Linked DNA regions of Homo sapiens: region 1 is linked to region 2. The links are contacts of gene promoters, found by promoter capture Hi-C in human tissues and cell types (Jung and others, 2019). All regions are on one chromosome and are shown on one strand. The core of a region is centred on a gene start or on the middle of the fragment in contact, and the rest is flanking DNA. Distances in the headings are between cores, read along the strand shown. Region 1 has its middle 37 kb from the start of ATP12A. Region 2 holds the start of ATP12A (ATPase H+/K+ transporting non-gastric alpha2 subunit).

Evidence for each region. The method cuts DNA at HindIII sites, captures the fragments that hold promoters and counts their contacts. A contact is called where the count stands out against the background at its distance.
Region 1: a fragment that was not itself captured here is called in contact with the fragment with the promoter of ATP12A in region 2 in 2 of the 25 tissues and cell types used here (H1 embryonic stem cells and mesendoderm cells).

Annotation. Positions count from the first base shown.
Region 1 is chr13:24,639,954-24,646,077 of GRCh38, forward strand. No RefSeq gene overlaps it. Among named protein-coding and RNA genes, the nearest start is that of ATP12A, 37 kb to the right of the region's middle. The HindIII fragment of the contact is 4,818 bases long and covers 1,122-5,939 here.
Region 2 is chr13:24,678,773-24,685,225 of GRCh38, forward strand. ATP12A (ATPase H+/K+ transporting non-gastric alpha2 subunit) reads left to right here and starts at 1,636. Exons shown (of 23, transcript NM_001676.7): 1 at 1,636-1,980; 2 at 2,790-2,948. The coding sequence starts at 1,972. RefSeq lists silencers at 1,684-1,993, 5,284-5,373 and enhancers at 3,187-3,767, 3,867-4,368, 4,369-4,868. The HindIII fragment of the contact is 3,620 bases long and covers 797-4,416 here.

The sequences.
Region 1 (6,124 bases), core at 2,281-4,780, 37 kb before region 2:
TCGAGACCATCCTGGCTAACACGGTGAAACCCTGTCTCTACTAAAAATACAAAAAAAAAATTACTGGGCGTGGTGGTGGGTGCCTGTAGTCCCAGCTACTCGGGAGGCTGAGGTAGGAGAATGGCGTGAACCCAGGAGGCGGAGCTTGCAGTGAGCCGAGATCACACCACTGCACTCCAGCCTGGGCGACAGAGCGAGACTCCGTCTCAAAAAAAAGAGGAAAAAAAAAAAAAAGAACATAGGACCTGTTAACAGTAGACAAATCTATTTTTCCCACCGCTTTTGTATTGCACCATCTACTGATGGTATTTGGGAAAGAAAAGGAAATTTTGTCACAGAAGTCACATAATTCTATGGTGTCATTTTCTTGTCCCTCAGCGGGACTCTCTGTGACTGAGGGCCTAAGAGTCAAAAGACTTATAGCCAATTAATTGTTCTAGGCCAGATAGGAGTGGATGTGGACAGGCATTCATTACGTCTAAAAATTATTATTTTAAGTTAAAAAAAAAGCTGACAAACAAAACCAAAAGGCAAAGTTACAAGACTGACTTATTTTTAACTTCTATGTGTTGAGTTACTGTAAGCTTGGTTTTTGTTACAGACTTATAGCAATCAGCTATACAAAACCTAAGCCTTGTTCTGAAAAATAATTGAAAATATGTATATATATAGATATAGATATATTTATCTTTACAACTCATAATTTGAAGTATTATACCCAGTAGGCTTTGTTCCGAGGTATTTTTATCCTGTTAGTAAATATTTTTCTTTAATTCTATCGTAAGCAGAAAATTTTTATGGTAGGGGTGGATGCAACAGTAGCACATCATACTTTGGGAGGCAACTAAACTTGTTTTACCAGCTGTTTAGGCATTTTTGTACCCCTTCTTGGTTTGGAGGGTTTGACCTTGACCTAATTTTATCCCTCAAAACCAGCCCTTACAGTCTAATGCACCCATCTCCTCCACGATAGTACCTGGGCCTAAAAAGGGAGGCTGCTTGTCTATAGTCTTAGCAGCAGAGTATCAGCAGTGAAACAGATTCCGGCCCAGTGGGGTGCCACATGAGGGAGATTCATATCTCTGGTCTTCAGAATACCATGATTTTGGTCTCTGTGGAAGTAAAACAAGGAGAGATAAATAACACTTCTAGTTTGACAATTATAAGAGTAATTTGTGGCCGGATGCAGTGGCTCACGCCTGTAATCCCAACACTTTGGGAGGCTGAGGCGGGTGGATCACCTGAGGTCAGGAGTTCAAGACCAGCTTGGCCAACATGGTGAAATTCTGTCTCTACAAAAATACAAAAATTAGGTGAGCATGATGGCGAGTGACTGTAGTCCCAGCTACTCAGGAGGCTGAGGTAGGAGACTCGCTTGAAGCCAGGAGGCAAAGGTTGCGGTGAGCTGAGATCACACCATTGCACTTCAGCCTGGGTGACAGAGCGAGACTCCATCTTAAAAAAAAAAAAAAAGTATTTGTATGTCAGAACAGAAAAAGAAACCTCTTCTATTAGGGTACCAACTAAAGATATGAAGAAAAATTATAATCTGGTACTCTCTATAGGATTATTGTAGCCAAGAAATGACTTAATCTGCATTCAAAAAAAGTTAGGGCTGAAATCTAGTATTAAGTGTTACACTTTTCCCTTGAAACAAGCTTCTCTAGCTGCTTTTTTTTTTTAATTAAAGAGAAATTATAGCAACACCAATTTGTGTGCCAGGCAAGTTTTAGGTTTATTATGCTTGCATGGTTATTTGCATAAAATGCAGCAAGAATTCATTGGCCATATATACTCCTTTTGAGTTGGCTTTGCTGGAACTATACCTAACAATACGCTATTTTAGTTTAAGTCTTGGAAAAATAACCGGTGCCTCCAATTTTTTTTTTTTTTAAACTCTTATTGAACTTATGCGGACAACTATATCGTCACAAAATTACAATCTGAATTTTGGTGAACCCAAAAGGTAAGTTTGCTTACAAAAACACAATTTACTCCTCCCCCAAAAAAGACAAAATAAAAAATAAACATACTTTAGCCAAATAGCTTAAAAGAAAAAGAAAGATTTTCTTAACCTTTCTTTAACCAGAGCAGCAGCTTTAAAACCAGATGCTTGTTTACCTTGGAAATGCCAATTACAAACAAAACAGCTCATGAGAGCTGTCTATCAGGCACTGTAGCATTTAGTAGCTCCTCACAATTAGTTCTAGGAAAGAGGCTCTCTTCTTATTAGGTAGCAAGATTTTATGTAAACCATTTTTATTTTATCACAGAACTCTTTGGGGAAATATTATTTCTATTAGCATAGGGGTAGCTTCAGTTAATATTTCATGGCAAGGCAATAAATGCCCCAACAAGTGGAAATTCTCTAATTCAGTCATTGTCATTGAAAAGTACTCATGATCTTTGTCATCGGCCCCGATAAATGTTCCACTCAAAGGGCTACGCAGTGGAGGATTTGTCCCGATTAGCACTCCAGCTCCTACCCTATACTTTGTGGGCTTAGACGATTTTACTAGTTCCTATTTAGTGTGTTCAAATAACATTTCCTAGAAGAGCAGATTTACATGCCCTCAGTTTTACAGTACTAGGAAAAGGAAAACGTCCCCCAGTTAGACATAGTACCCATTTTCATAAGACATTTAGGTAAAAGGGGTTACAACTACCTTACATAAAGCTTGTTTAAACATCATAAATTGTATAATTCTATTAAACTCTATGTTTTTATGTTCGGGTCCCAGGAACCCTTTTACACCCCCAGTCTATTTTACCTTTTCTGGTGAAAAGAGTTTGGGTTCCCAGCAGGGAGTTGTGTCTGTAAGACCTGTGAGGGACAGCAAATTGGATAAGGCTTCTTAAACAGTCCTATGATTCTGTGCAAGGGGCACTCATGTAAAAGGGGGCCCCTTAACCCCCAAATTTACCATGACCTTGAGTAGTAGGCATATTTGGTGGGAAGATACCTCAGTTATCATAAAGCCAGTCCAACATGGCTTGCATATGAAGCATGTTAATGCTTCACCTGGGGTGCTTCACTTGGTATTTTATAGAGAGAGTTGGGCAGTCCCCTTCTCAGGGCAAACAGACCTTACTGGATTTATCCAGTCCACTAGGCTGATTCTTTTCTCAGGAATAACCTTCTGTTCATTTGGATCACATATACTCATCAGTGATTGTTCAGTAGTGAGCTGTGGGTCCTGTATTAATCCAAACACGCTCTTAAATTCTGTAGCATTTAAAATGAATAATTTTGTCCTTAAAAGTGGTGGCTTTTACAATCCACTAAAGATTTTTTAAAGAAGCCGAATGATACCAGTCTACAAAATGGAACAATTTACATTATGCCCTCTGGTTTTTAATGATTACTTGGCTTTACCACAGGGTTCAGATTTAACTTTTGTTGCCCTGGCTTGCTTTCTTTTTTAATCCATTTAGTTTTATCTGTATAATTCTCTTTCATTATAAAGCTACTCTTAGTTTCTTAACCAAAAAACTTACATTTTTTTGAAAATTGACATCCTTGTGTTTTATAAAATTTTGCCAAAAGCATATTTTACGCTCCAACTATTTTAAATTTTAGTAACCCAAATTTCCAGTGGGGGAAAAAAACAGGTTTTTAACATGACTTTAAAATTTTAAATTACTGGGGAGAGTTTTAAGATTAAATTTACCAAGTTTATTTTACCGAAGATTACCAAGTCATGTGAATTAAAAGGCATCTGAGCTAGCTTCTACCAATCTGATAAGCACTTAACATTTTTTAAGTTACTTGATTAGAGCTCTTTCATGTAGTTTGGTAGTAAAATATCACTTCCCCATGACACAAATAAAGATAGAGATATAAAAAGCATGCAGAATAAAAAGGCAGTTTCAAAAGATATTTTATTTGCCAATTTTCAAGAAAATTATCTCACTTATTTTAGACAGTTAATAAAAGTAACAGCAGACAACAAAAGGTAAAGAAGAAAGCTACCATTCAAGGCCTTGCCTTTTCACAAGAGAAAGAGTTGAACTTCTGAGCTATCAATCTGAAGAATGTTAAAGACAGATGATAGAATGTTAAAGTTTAAAAACTTCATGCATTAAAAGTCAAATATTTGTAATAAAATATTGATTTGACTATTTAGTTTTGTATTAGTGTACTTTTAAGTATCAAAGACCCATCTCTACAAAGACTATTATAATTTCCTCTTCATTATAACCAACTGAATTACACAACTGTCAGAGGCATGTGAACCAGAGCAACTCTATCTTGAATAAGGGCTGGGTAAAATGAGGCCAAGACCTACTTGGCTGGATTCCCAGACAGTTAAGGCATTCTAAGTCACAGGATGAAATAGGAGATCAGTACAAGATACAGGTTATAAAGACCCTGCTGATAAAACAGTTTGCAGTAAAGAAGCCAGCTAAAACCCATCAACACCAAGATGGCCATGAGAGTGACCTCTGGCCATCCTCACTGCTACACTCCCCCCAGCGCCATGACAGTTTACAAATGCCATGGCAATGTCATGAAGTTACACCATATGGTCTAAAAGGGGAAGGCATGAATAATCTACCCCTTATTTAGCATATAACCAAGAAATAACTGTAAAAATGGGTAACCAGCAGCCCTCGGGGCTGCTCTGCCTTATGGAGTAGCCATTCTTTATTCCTTTACTTTTCCAATAAGTTGCTTTCGCTTTACTCTATGGGCTCGCTCTGAATTCTTTCTTGCATGAGATTCAAGAACCCTTTCTGGAGTATAGTGCTGCAAACACAGCTCACTGTAGCCTCAACCTCCCAGGCTTAAGCAATCCTCCTGCCTCAGCCTCCCGAGTGGCTGGGACTACAGGTGCATGCCACCATGCCCAGCTAAGCTAATTTTTTCTATTTTTTGTAGAGACAAGGTGTCACTATGTTGCCCAGGCTGGTCTCAAACTCCTGGACTCAAACAGTCCTCCTGCCTTGGACTCCCAAAGTGTTGGGATTTCAGGCATGAGCCACCACACTGAGCCAGGTGAGTTTTGACAAATATATACACCCATATGGCCCAGCACCTCAGTCACAATACAGAATGTCTCCATCACCGCACATGGTTCCCAACTCGACCTCAAACCCAAGTGCTATGGAGTCACTGATTCTGATTTTAATATGCTGTATTATTTGCTATAATACAGCATATACATTTCATGTACATTTTTGTGACAAATGATATGTTTTTATTTTCATTTTTATTGGTACAAAATACTTTCTAATTTCTCTTGTGATGTCTTCTTTTACCCATGGTTATATAAGAAATGTGTTACTTAATTTTAAAACATTTGGGGATTTTCCAAATATCTTTTATTGTTGAATTTGTAAAGGATCTATCCAACAAACTGTTGAGCTCACTTAATAGTAGTTACAGTTCATAATGAGATTCTCTTGGATTTTCCTTATAGATATTTCATCTGACAGTATAAATTTTACATCGGCCAGAATCCCCAGTGTAATATTAAACTGTGGAGGTGATAACAGGGATGTTTGTGTCTGATTTTAATGAGCCTCTTTTAAGATTTCACTATTCAGTGTGAAGTTTGCTATAGGTTTTGAGGCAATACACTTTTAATAAATTAAAGATTATTTATCATAAGCAGAGTTGGGATATTTGAGTGAATTTTCTAAATCTACTGATATAACAATATGATTTTTTCTTTTAATTTGCCAGTGTGATGGATTACATTGAAGATTTTTTTTGCACTCCTCAGATAAACTCTATTGCTCTTTTTATTTTGAATAAAATTCTGGATTTATTTTGCTTGCTATGTTGTATTTTGATAGTGATTTTAACATATCTGAAATATGTTTGAGCAGAAGTGAGGTGAGAATCAAAATTAGCTTATTCTACAGCTATTTTTTCTTATACCGTTTATTGAATGATTCATGTTTCCCATACAGTATGTTCTAAATAATTTTTGATCTTTCTTTTATTATTGTTATTTAATTTTTATTTTTTGAGACAAAGTCTCATTCTGTCACCCAGACTGGAGTGCAGTGGCATGATCTCGGCTCACTGAAACCTCTGCCTCCTGGGCTCAAGTGATCCTCCCACCTCAGCCTCCTGAGTAGCTGGGACTCAGGTCCAGCTCAGTAACTGGGACAG
Region 2 (6,453 bases), core at 386-2,885:
AATTTTTTTATTGTGACAGAGTCTCGCTCTGTCGCCCAGGCTGGAGTGCAGTGGCGCGATCTCCACTCACTGAAAGCTCCACCGTCTCCCGGGTTCATGCCATTCTCCTGCCTCAGCCTCCCGAGCAGCTGGGACTACAGGCGCCCACCACCATGCCCGGCTAATTGTTTTGTATTTTTAGTAGAGATGGGGTTTCACCGTGTTAGCCAGGATGGTCTCGATCTCCTGACTTCGTGATCCGCCCGCCTCGGCCTCCCAAAGCGTTGGGATTACAGGCGTGAGCCACCGCGCCCGGCCGGGCACAAGCTTATTGTTTTTCTTCTACCTTTTCTAAATGTACCCAATGCTCTTCATGTTTTCTGCCAGATGTTCTAGTCACTGCATGATGGGATTGTTACTTTTGCTGCTTCTCTGGACTCCTCACTCTTAGTCATTTTAAATATGGTCAAAATGACAATCTTTCTTACCATATTTGATATATAACTTTCAAAAAGAATAAAACTTAGCACCCTCCTATTAGTCCTTATCTAAATGGAAACTTATTAGCAGAGCATCAAGGGCCCAATAAAGTGCCCCCTCTTTTGAAACTTATCTCTACTCCCTTTCATATATTTCAATCATGTCAATTTCTTATTGTTCTTCTAAATAGGTGCTGATTACTAAACTCTATTCGTGGGTTTTATTTTTTATGTTCCTCTCCATTAATTAATATTCTTCACTGACTTTAAGACTTCACGATTCATTCTTTTAAAAGAACGTGTTTGATTTCCTCCACTGTTAACTGCTAAATATCTCTCTGATATATTGTTTTCAGGCTATCTTTCTCATCTGGAGTAATTATGTTTCAAGTGTCAGGGGGAAAATACCTTTTCTATCCTGTGCAAAAACTCATGCTGGGCACTAAGAGCATGGAGCATGTCCCAGTTATCTATTGCTGCATAACAAACCAACCCAAACTTAGCAGTATAAAACAACCACTGCTTTAGTATGCACATCAACTTTCAGGGTCAGAAATTCTTTTCTCCTTCATGTATAGAGTCTCAGCTGGGAGTGACATAAATAGGTGGAGACAGACCTCTCCAGCCCAGTCCAGCCAACAGCCTCCGCTCCTGCGCACCCGCAGCCTGGGGCCCCAGGTTCCTGTGGTCTCACCGACCCTAATCCTCTCATCTCTCCTCCCCATTCCCTCTCCAAATTGTTTCAGAATTCCAAATTCTTATCTGGATCCGGCAAATTAATTCAGCTACTCTTCAGAGTCTCTCAGTTATTCCCAAATTCTCTCGGAAGCTTGAATTTACCTATCTAAATCCATTCTCAAAAACACATTGGCCTTTTCTAGCCGGGACATCTCCAACAGTAGTTGCTGTTAGAAACTGCAATTTCCCCTTCTCTGCATACACATTTTTATAAATTGATTTATTGGTAGGCAAATTACATTTTTAAAAAAAGGCATGTGTGGGTTTTCAGGGAAGCCTGGACAGGACGTGGGCGTGCCGGGAGCTCGCCGGAGCAGCTGGTCCGGCTCTGGGCGCCCAGCGGAACCAGGGCTGTACTCACCTGGATGCCGGACCCGCCCCCTAGAGACCCCGCCCCCTGGCGTTCGGCTACTAAAGGGAAGGGGATTCCCAGGGGGTCCTCAATCCTGGACTCTCCCGACCCCTAGCTGTCGGTCCCCCTCCCTGCGCGCGCGCCGGCGGGTTTCCTACCCTCCGAGGCGTCCGCTGGCCTGCGCCCTGGCGGGGACGTGGGCGGGGCGGGCGGCATTTAAGGCTGGTGCCACCTCCCCGGTGCAGCGGCTGGCGATCGGCCGCGGAGGTGCGTGCAGGGCCCGCGCCGCCGCCGGTATCTCCACCGCCAACACCTCAGCCACTGCCACTGCCACAGCCACACGAGGCCCCCCACCGTGCGCTCCGCCGCTGCGGTCCCGGATCCGCGCTCCACGCCCGCAGCCCGCGGCGCCACCAGCCCAGCATGCACCAGGTGCGTGCAGCCCCCGCGCCGGCCGAGGATGCGAGACGCTGGGCCAAGGCCCCGGGGACCGGAGCAGGCTGACGGGAAGCGAGGAAAAGGCGAAGAGGAGAAACGCCCCGTCCCGGGGCAAGGGGAGGCCGCCTTTCCTCTGAGCGCCCCCCGGCCTGGGCACCGCTTCTCTGACTCCCCGCCACGGCTCCGTGCGGCCGCCGGGGCTGGCTGGGGAAAGAAGCCAGTCCAGAGGAGCGAGAAGGGGCCAAGGGGTCCTAGGCCAGCTCCATGGCACCTGCGGGCTCCGACTCGGAGGATGGGGTGACATGGATTCGTTGCGGTCTGAAAAGACTTCCGGTTAGGGCCCCCTGATCAGGACTGAGGGTCGTAAGCTTAGTGGGTGCCTCCTCCCCAAGAAACAGGACGCACAGCTGTTGTGTCCCCTGGGAAGGACACCTCAGAGGAAACCTCGAGGTGCCTAAGGAACCTCGAGGTTCTAAGGAAACCTCACAGCTCCTTGGAGGCATCAGTCAGGAGTTGGGGGGGTAACTTCCCACCTGCTCCACCCAGAGAAGGGTCACCCTGAGGAGCTGCTGGCTGGCCTGTGCCCACCCCGCCTCCCCTCTACACGGACGGAGAGGAAGCCAAGGTCGGCGGGAGGTGGGGGAGAGACTCCACTGTCCGACTCCCTCCGGCCTCCCCAGAGGAGGGAAGGAAAGGGAGAAGGGGCTCCTGACTCCTGCAGGTCCTGACCCCGCAGAGGGGCGCTCAGCACCTCTTCGGAAACCCCATTTGGGGCCAATATTGCACCTGGGCTTCTCTTTCAGAAAACCCCAGAAATTTACTCCGTGGAGCTCAGCGGAACTAAGGACATCGTGAAAACAGACAAGGGGGATGGCAAGGAGAAGTATAGGGGTCTGAAGAACAACTGCCTGGAACTCAAAAAGAAAAATCACAAAGAGGAGTTTCAGAAAGAACTCCATCTGGTCAGTAGCCTTAAGCCACGGGGTCCTGCCGGCTATGGCCCTTCCCCGCAAGAGCTTGCCCCTAGAACCCACCTCTTACCACAGACATTCAGTCTGAGGGATTTGAAATCCCCTTGAGATTGTGTGTGGTGTGTGGTGTCTGCGTGGTGTGTCTGTGTGGTGTGTGTGTGTGGTGTATGTGTGGTGTGTGTGTATGTGTGGTGTGTCTGTGTAGTGTGTGGTGTGTGTGTGTATGTGTGGTGTGTGGTGTATGGTGTGTGGTGTGTGTGTATGGTGTGTGGTGTGTGTATATGGTGTGTGTAGTGTGTGGTGTGTGTATGTGTGTGGTGTGTGTGTATGGTGTGTGTGTATGGTGTGTGTATGTGTGGTGTGTGTGATGTGTGTGTGATGTGTGTGTGGTGTGTGTGTGTGGTGTGTATATGTGTGTGGTGTGTGTGTGGTGTGTGTATGTGTGTGGTGTGTGTATGTGTGTGGTATATATGTGTGTGGTGTGTGTGGTGTGTGTATGTGCATGGTATGTGTGGTGTGTGTGTAGCGTGTGGTGTGTGTGTAGTGTGTGGTGTGTATGTGTGGTGTGTGTATGTGCATGGTATGTGTGGTGTGTGTGTAGCGTGTGGTGTGTGTGTAGTGTGTGGTGTATATGTGTGGTGTGTGGTGTGTGTGTGGTGTGTGGTGTGTGTATGTGTGTGTGTGTGTTTTGAATGGTGTGATAGTATCCACCCAGAGGTCAGGGCCTCTGCAGGATTCCTGCATTCTGGTTGGAGGCAGTCCCTGTAGAACTCAGAAGGAAGAGCCTCTGATTCCAGGCCCCACAGGCATGGCCAGACCTCTCTCCCCGCAGCTGCTTCAGTGAGAGTTAAGTAACCACTTGCCAGTTTTCAATTGATTAGTAAAACTATTTGAGCTGGAACTTCTGAGGAGGAAAACCAAAGCCCCTAGGCCATGCTAGATTGCAGGTGTGAAACCTCATGGAAAAGCAGTTTCAGTGGTAAAAATGTGGAGCTTGGATTGGGAGGACCTCGGGCCCCATCAGAGTCCCACTTCTCCACTGAGCTGAAACTGGCAACAAATGACTGACCCTCACTGAAGGTCCATTTCCTTTATGTAAAATGGGAAATAAATAATTTGCTGGGGTCTATGAGGGGAAAAAATGAGATGAGGATTTTGTAATTCACGTGCTTTAGGGGAGTACAATATTATTATTATTAAGGAAGAGCTCTGGAGTTATTAAAACTAGCCTTTTTTTTTTTTTTGAGACAGAGTTTCGCTCTTGTTGCCCAGGCTGGAGTGCAATGGCGCTATCTAGGCTCACTGCAACCTCCACCTCCTGGGTTCAAGCGATTCTCTTGCCTCGGCCTCCCGAGTCACTGGGATTACAGGCGCCCGCCATCACACCCAGCTAATTTTTGTTGTTTTTAGTAGAGACGGGGTTTCCCCATGTTGGCCAGGCTGCTCTCGAACTCCTGACCTCAGATGATCCACCCGCCTCAGCTTCCCAAAGTGCTGGGATTACAGGCGTGAGCCACTGTGTCCAGCCCAAACTGGCCACTTTAATAATAAAACTGCCTTGGGTCTGAAATGTGACAGATTTTATCTTGGGAACACCGAAGGGGAAACTTCTACACGGAGCTTGAGATGGGCTGGATTGTCCCCACCGTCCTTGGCAGATCTTAAAGCTCTGTGACTCCTGAGGGGAGTCTCTTTTGTGCTAGAGAGCCATTTGTTAAGTATTCAGAAACTTGGCAGGCTGACTGACATCCTGTTAGCAGCTTCAAACTTGGTTCTAGTGAGAAATCAGCAAACTCTACAAATCCGAGCTTTGTATTGATCGTTCCTGGAGAGTTTGTTAAACATTTAACAGTATACCACTGGGCATTTGTCCGTATCTATCATGAGAGACATTTAAGAACGCTTCCCTGAAACTGGACTGACCTCAATTCAAATCCCAGTGTAACTGAAGTTCAGTTTCCTATTTTGAAAAACATAAGATTTTTTTTTCTACCTCTTAAGGGTTACTAGGAAGATTAAATGAGATAAAACAGGGAAAAGACAGCACAGCACCAGACGATAGATCGTTCTTATTATTTCCCATTATCTCTAGCATTTAAGATTGAAGACATATCTGTTTTTCCCTTGACATTACAAGGGTCCTGTAATTTTCAGCAGCATATTGAATGCTTTTGCCTCCCAACCTTTCTTGGCAAATTAGTGCCTAATGACAACTGAAGTATCCCGGCCTTTGAATGAAAGGGCCAGGCAGTGACCCGAGGGGTGGGTGGGGTGCTGCCCTGTGCTAGTCCAGTGCTGGCCAGCAGAGGGCACCCCAGATAACCACCACCACCTCGTCCCACCCCTCCCCCATGCTCTCATCCCCCAGCCCAGGAAGTCTGAGGTCCCATGCATGCAAACAATGGCTCGGATCATCCACTACTTGTATCTGCCCAAAACTTAGTGGGTTGTGCTGTGCTCTGTGCAGAACACAGCCTTAATCTTCTGAATCCCCAGCAATATCACACTCAATCAGTATTAGTAGAAGGGATGAAGGAGCAAAACAGAATCTGGCTGAGAAGAGGGCTAGAAGCAAGATAATAATGATAATAATGAATTCTGCTTTATTGGAAGGCCTAGTCTCTTACTGCAACATGGAACTATTTTTTGCATATACTTAAGAAAAGAGATGATGTGAGCACCAGTCAACAGTATCAATCTTTGTTTCAGACAATCAGGGTTTAAAAAATCCTGAGTGCTGGACTTTCTAGGGGGAGTGAGGAAGACTTACCCTAGGTTTTCTGCTACAGGAAGAGACTTCTTGTCCTTTAGCCCAGTGGTTCTCAAAGGGAGAGGAGAAGAGGATTCCCCCACCCCTCTCCCAGGGGAAAAATGGAAACATTTTTGGTTACCACAACTGAGGGGAGGATGTTAGTGGGTGGAGCCCACAACAAAGAATTATTCTCCCAGAATGGCAGCAGGGCCACGGGTGAGAAACCCTGCTGTAGTCTAATGATTCTGTAGCAGAATTCACAAGTGGCAGCCACAATGCTGTGGGTTTATTCAGCAGAACTTTTCCCTGCAGGGTTTCTCTGCCCAGTGAGCTCCCTGAGCGTCACAGCTTGAGTGAGGGAAGCTGCTTTTCCCTGCCAGAGCCCACACAGCGAAGGAGGAGGAGTTGTGCCAGCCCAGGAAGCGGTTCTAGTGTGGTTTTGCCATCAGCCCCAGCCAATCCCAGGGTTCAGGCCTGAGGGAAGCCTCCAGCTCACTGGCACCTGGAAGATGAGGGTGCCAGAACCTGTATGCCCTGGAGTTCAGATTGAAGCGAGGTGCATGGCTTTGTTCAGAAAAGCTGCAGGCAGCTTCTGGGTAGTAACAGCAAGTGCAGGATTGTGCCGACTCAGGGACAGTCACTCCTGAGGCAGTGCCATCCTTCGCTGGGCAGCTGCCTGGCACAGGGGTTCTTTCTCTCCTGTCCCCCACACTCCTCGATCCCCTCCCATCCTCAGGGCTGCTA